2 separate regions of the Homo sapiens genome follow, and region 1 is linked to region 2. The links are contacts of gene promoters, found by promoter capture Hi-C in blood cells and fetal thymus (Javierre and others, 2016). All regions are on one chromosome and are shown on one strand. Each heading gives the region's core, a stretch centred on a gene start or on the middle of the fragment in contact. The rest is flanking DNA. Distances are from core to core; before and after follow the strand shown.

What was found. The method cuts DNA at HindIII sites, captures the fragments that hold promoters and counts their contacts. A CHiCAGO score of 5 or more calls a contact.
Region 1: a contact is called between a fragment that was not itself captured here and the fragment with the promoter of SCARF2 in region 2, in 1 of 17 cell types (M0 macrophages). The highest score is 5.6, in M0 macrophages.

Annotation. Positions count from the first base shown.
Region 1 is chr22:20,149,331-20,152,030 of GRCh38, reverse strand. CCDC188 (coiled-coil domain containing 188) reads left to right here and starts at 976. Exons shown (of 9, transcript NM_001365892.2): 1 at 976-1,563; 2 at 1,781-1,888; 3 at 1,972-2,076; 4 at 2,251-2,307; 5 at 2,391-2,450; 6 at 2,555-2,619. The coding sequence starts at 1,045. The HindIII fragment of the contact is 1,653 bases long and covers 462-2,114 here.
Region 2 is chr22:20,436,437-20,439,136 of GRCh38, reverse strand. It overlaps SCARF2 (scavenger receptor class F member 2), which reads left to right and starts at 1,312. Exons shown (of 11, transcript NM_182895.5): 1 at 1,312-1,555. The coding sequence starts at 1,383. LOC107985588 (a long non-coding RNA gene) reads right to left here and starts at 1,141. Exons shown (of 2, transcript XR_001755623.2): 1 at 626-1,141. The HindIII fragment of the contact is 6,009 bases long and covers 1-2,700 here.

The sequences.
Region 1 (2,700 bases), core at 39-2,538, 290 kb after region 2:
GAGGTCAGGAGATCGAGACCATCCTGGCTAACACGGTGAAACCCCGTCTCTACTAAAAATACAAAAAAATTAGCCGGGCGCGGTGACAGGCGCCTGTAGTCCCAGCTACTCGGGAGGCTGAGGCAGGAGAATGGCGTGAACCTGGGAGGCGGAGCTTGCAGTGAGCCGAGATTGCGCCACTGCACTCCAGCCTGGGCGACAGAGCAAGACTCCGTCTCAAAAAAAAAAAAAAAAACAGAGGATAACAATGGCATGTACTGGATCTGGCATAATGTAAATATTCAATACATAGCTAGAAAAGAATGTTTTAAAACCTCAGAGATATATTAGGTGAAAAGCAAAGCTGGGCTACAGGATGACCTCTTCTGTGTGAACCAGGGGCAGGGGACGGCAGCCCACCTCTAGGAGCTTAAAGAGGAAGCTCCTGTCTGCAGGGACAGGAGATAAAGGTGGGAAAAGCTTGGACACCATTTTTATTGTTTGATACTTTTTGAATCCACACTGTGAGTGTGTGTATTATCTGTTTTATAACTAGGCTGGGTGCAGTGGCTCACATCCGTAATCCCAACACTTTCAGATATTGAGGTAAGAGGATCGCTTGAGGCCAGGAGTTTGTGACCAGCCTGGGCAACATAGCGAGACCCTTATCTCTACAAAAAACTTAAAAATTAGCCGGGCATGGTTGCACACATCTGTAGTCCTAGCTACTTGGGAGGCTGAGGTGGGAGGATTGCCTGAGCCCAGGAGTTGGAGGCTGCAATGAGACACCTTGTGCCACTGCACTCCAGCCTGGGTGACAGAGCAAGTCCCCTTCCCATAAAAGAAAGAAAGAAAGAAAACTCGCATGGTGGGTCAGTGGGTCAGAGGCAGTGAGGTCATCAGGCGGGGCAGCTTCAGGACCAGGTGGGAGGGGCCCATTGTGACCGCCCTGGCTGCACCCAGGCCTTTGTGACTGTTGCCTGGGGCAGCCCCCTCAGTAAGAGGGTGGCAGGTTGGGCCAGGCCAGAGCCTGGACCTGGGATCAGGAAGGGGTTGCAGGGAGGGATGGAGGGGCTGAAAACCCTGGGCCCCTGCGGCCACCCCCACCCCCAGTGTCCCCCAACCCCAGCCTCCAGCAGCCATGGAGGAGGCCTGGACCAGCCCTGCCAGGGATTTGTAGGGTGGCCCTGCCTGGGCCCCATCTCCTCTGCTCACTCAGTGCAGTCCCAGAGACCTTTCCCAGTCCCAGGGGCAGGGGGCAGTGGGCCCACAGTGGAGGGCGAGGCTCCCGGGCTCTTTCTGTCCAGCCAGGAGCAGAGAGCGAGAGACACTGAGGGGCCGAGACAAGGAGACCTGGAGGCAGGGCTTGGGTGGGGCTGGCCCCTGCACCCAGGGTCGAACCAGGGGGCTCCCAGGCAGGGGGGATCCATTGGCTCAGGGACCAGACCCTGCCCATGCCCACCCCTGTCACGGGAGGGAGGGGCCCTGGCCTCGCCCAGGGTAGCCCTGTCCCAGCTTCAGTGCGGGCTGCTGGGCTCTGCAGAACAGTCCTTCCTGCAGCTGGAGCAGGAGAACCACAGCCTGGTGAGCACCCCACCCACCGCCCCAGCCCCAGCCCCAGCCCCACCCACCGCCTGGTACCCCTGCCCCAGCCCCAGCCCCACCCACCACCTGGCGCCCCTGCCCCTGCCCCTGCCCCAGCCCCAGCCCCACCCACCACCTGGCGCCCCTGCCCCTGCCCCAGCCCCAGCCGCAGGAGCGGCCATGACAGGCAGCCCCCTCTCTCTGCCCCCCACCCCAGAAAAGGCAGAATCAGGAACTTCGGGAGCAGCTGGGGGCCCTCCTGGGGCCGGGGCAGCAGTTCCTGCCCCTGTGTCCCGAACACTCAAGCTGCACTGCTCTGGCCTGGGTAAATACAGGGCCCAGGGACCCCATGCAGCCAACGCCCCTCTAGCCCGCAGTCTTAGGGCTGATCTGGGGGCTCTCCCACAGCCCCCCGACCCGGCTGGCACGCAGCCCTTGGGGAACAGGGCACCTCTGCAGCTGCTGCGGCGGGAGCTGTGCCAGGGGCAAGAGGCTTTCGTGCAACAGTCCCAGGTGGGCCTGGGGGAGGGGCTGTGGGGGGGGAGGAAGCTTCGTAACAGCACTCCAGGTGGGCCTGAGGGATTCATTAGGGAGGGAGGTCTTCGTGCAGTAGGCCAGTGGGCCCAGCGGGGAGGTACTGGCCACCCTGCTGATGCTGCCCAAGCCCATCCTGGGCCCCACCCTCAGAACGAGCTGCAGCAGATCCGCCTGTGCTTTGAGAGGAAGAAGATGGTCATCACAGAGGTGCCCGCCTGGCTGAGGGGGAGGGGTGCTGGGGGCCCACCCAGTGGGTCCTGCTCCTCAGGCGTGACCCCACCTCCCCCTAGGTGTGGGACAACGTGGCTGAGATGCACATGGCCCTGAACAACCAGGCCACCGGGCTCCTGGTAGGTCCCCACAGGGCAGCACCCAGAAGGACGGGGCCCGGCGGGCGAGAGGCCACGGAGGGCGGGGCGAGGGGCCTGCTGTGCTTACCTCCTCTGGCCCCCAGAACCTCAAGAAGGACATCCGGGGCGTGCTGGACCAGATGGAGGACATCCAGCTGGAGATTCTCAGGTAACACGGGGGCAGGGGCCGGGCCAGCTGAGCAGGGTCTCAGAAGGTGTCCTGGTCAGGACAGGGCAGACCCATCCTTGA
Region 2 (2,700 bases), core at 63-2,562:
AGCATGGCTGAGTGAGGGGCCTGCTCCTCCCCATCCCACTCTCTGCCTGTGCCAGCCTGGTGATGCCCATGGCCTTGGGCCTTTCAGTGGCTCCTCCTCCAAGCCCCCTCCTCCAGCCCCACCCTTCGGGGCTATCTGGCCACACCTGGACAGAGTCTGCCTGCCCTCCCTCAGTGAGCCTGTGGGCCGCATGTGGCCTGCTCCCCAAAGAACGGAGGTGCCCGCTCCCTGCTTAGGCCTTCTGCCAGCTCTCAAGTCCCCAAAAGACAAACATCCTCACTAGGACCTGGCTACACACGGGACATTTGTGCTCCCTGCCCAACTTCCAGAGTCGGTCTGCCCCAGTTGCCCCCCGGGGACCCGCACCCTGCTGCCTCCCAGTCCAAGTCCAGCTTCCCCGCTGGCTCCCTAGGGCCTGTCCCTCTGTCTTGCTCCCTTCCCACACCTTCCTTCTGCTCTGTGCTGTTACCCACCTTACCTGATGCAGGAGTTCCCACTCTCTAGCCCCAGCCTCTCCTGGAAATCCGACAGCCAGCAGAATCCACCGCCCAGGCTCCCCCAGCCCCCTTCACTCCTCAACTAGGACTGCAGGGTTTCCATCCCGGGGGTCTCCTTCTGTCTTTACCTCTACTTCCTACCGCAGTCCACAGCCTGGCCATTCTACTTCCTCTGTATCTCTCCCATCCGTCCCTACGGAGACCCCTTCCCCCAGGCCTCTGGTCCGGACCGAGTCTACCACAGGCCTCAAGCATCCTGCTCGGTCCGCCCCTTGCGAGCTCTGAGTGCGCAGGAGTGCGCAGGGGGAGCTGACCGCACACCCCAGCACTACAAGGACTTCGCGGTGGGGTGCTGTGGAGTTGGCTTTCGGCCTCGACCTGGGCTGTCTGCGGGCCCCACTCCCTTGGCCGGTTCCGAGGCGCTGGGAGCGGGGGTGGGCTTGCGGAGTCGCGTCCGTGTCCCCGATCCGCCTTCCCGTCCCGGGCCTGGCCTACGCAGTGGGCGCGCAGGGGCGGCTGCTTCGGTAGATGTCTAGGGAGCGGAGGGAAAGGCGCGGGAACCGGGGATTCCTCGGGCGGACCCTCCCTCCACCAGCGCTCGGCGGGCCTCCTCCAAGTTCGCCCCCAAGTTTGCGAGCGGCCAAATGGGGGCGGGGGCTGCGCGGAGGGGCGGTGGCTAGGCCGGAGGGTGGGGTCTGGAGCGCGGGGCGGGCGCTGCCGCCTGGCCGGCCGCGGCTGGCCCGGGATCAGGGAGCCGATGTGGAATTTCCTGCCCGGCTCGGCGCCCCTCCTGCCGCCCCCCGCCCGGCCTCGCACTCCGCTTCCGGCCGCTCTCGCTGCGGCCGCACCCGCGCCCGTGCCCGCCCCGCGCCTGCCCCGCGCCTCATGGAGGGCGCAGGGCCCCGGGGGGCCGGGCCGGCGCGGCGCCGGGGAGCCGGGGGGCCGCCGTCACCGCTGCTGCCGTCGCTGCTGCTGCTGCTGCTGCTCTGGATGCTGCCGGACACCGTGGCGCCTCAGGAACTGAACCCTCGCGGCCGCAACGTGTGCCGTGCTCCCGGGTAGGAGCCGGCCTGGCTGGGGGAGGGGGCGAGAGGGACGCTCTGGGCAGTGGTGTGGCGGCGCCGGGCATTGGGAGGGGGCTACCGGAACCTTCCTACGCCAAGTGTGGGCCCCTTCGGCTCCCTAGCCAGCGCGGCTCCGTTCCAGGCCCAGCCTCGGCCATGGGCCACGACAGTGCATCCCAGGGAACCCTGGACGAGAAGTCACCTGAGGGGAGGATGGAGTGCCGTGGGCACCCAGGGGATGACACGCGTTGTCCGGGATATCAGGAAAGACCTGGAAAAAGGGACCCTTGACCGAGTTGTGAAGTCCACGGGGAAAAGCTGGGGAAGGGCATTCAAGCCAAAGGAACTGCATGTGCTAAAGCCCCGCACTAGTCCGACTGGAGCCGGGAGTGGGAGTGAGGAGGAAGGTCAGGGGAGGAGGAGCGGTGCTAGCCGGGGAGGTCCTGGAGCAAGCCAGACTTGGAAAGACAGATTCGCGTCTTAGAGCGGGCGCGGGTGGGAGGGTGGTGACCCAGGCGAGCGTCGAGGAGCCGGCGCTCGAAGTGGACCAGAAGCGGGAGGCGGAAGGACTATGACAGGCACAGGGGACCGGAGGATGTGGGAACCCTGGCGACAACCAGGTGGGGATTCTGGGTGCAAGAAGGGGCCGCGCAAATGTGGGGCGCCGGCTGGGGAAGCCAGTGTGGGACAGGCAGGCGACAGGCCCGGCCGGTGGGGGGGCGAGTCCGGGAGTTTGCACGGAGGGCAGAGAGGTGAGCCCCGGACGCCAGGAGTTAGGAGCTGGGGTCGGGGGAGCCGGTGGGCTGGCCAAAGGCCACAAGGTCAAGGGCATCTCCACGCAGGGGTGAGGAGCGGGCGTGTGGGGGCGCCTTGGCGCGGATTGGAGACGCCGCACGGGCTGGCAGCCGCAGAGGCGGCCGCCGGGCTCCGAGCTGGGTCGCGTCGGGGCGCCTGAGCCACGGACCCGGGGCAAGCCGAGTCCAGGGGCTCGGCGCCAGAGACAAGGGGCTGCGAGGGGGCAGCGCGGGGTTTCCGAACTCTGGTCCGGAGGCGCGCAGACCCCTCCCCGCTGCGAGCCCCGCCTCCGGGGCGGGGGCCGGCCTGGCCCGCCATCTGCTTCGCATCGATGCCGCCGCCGC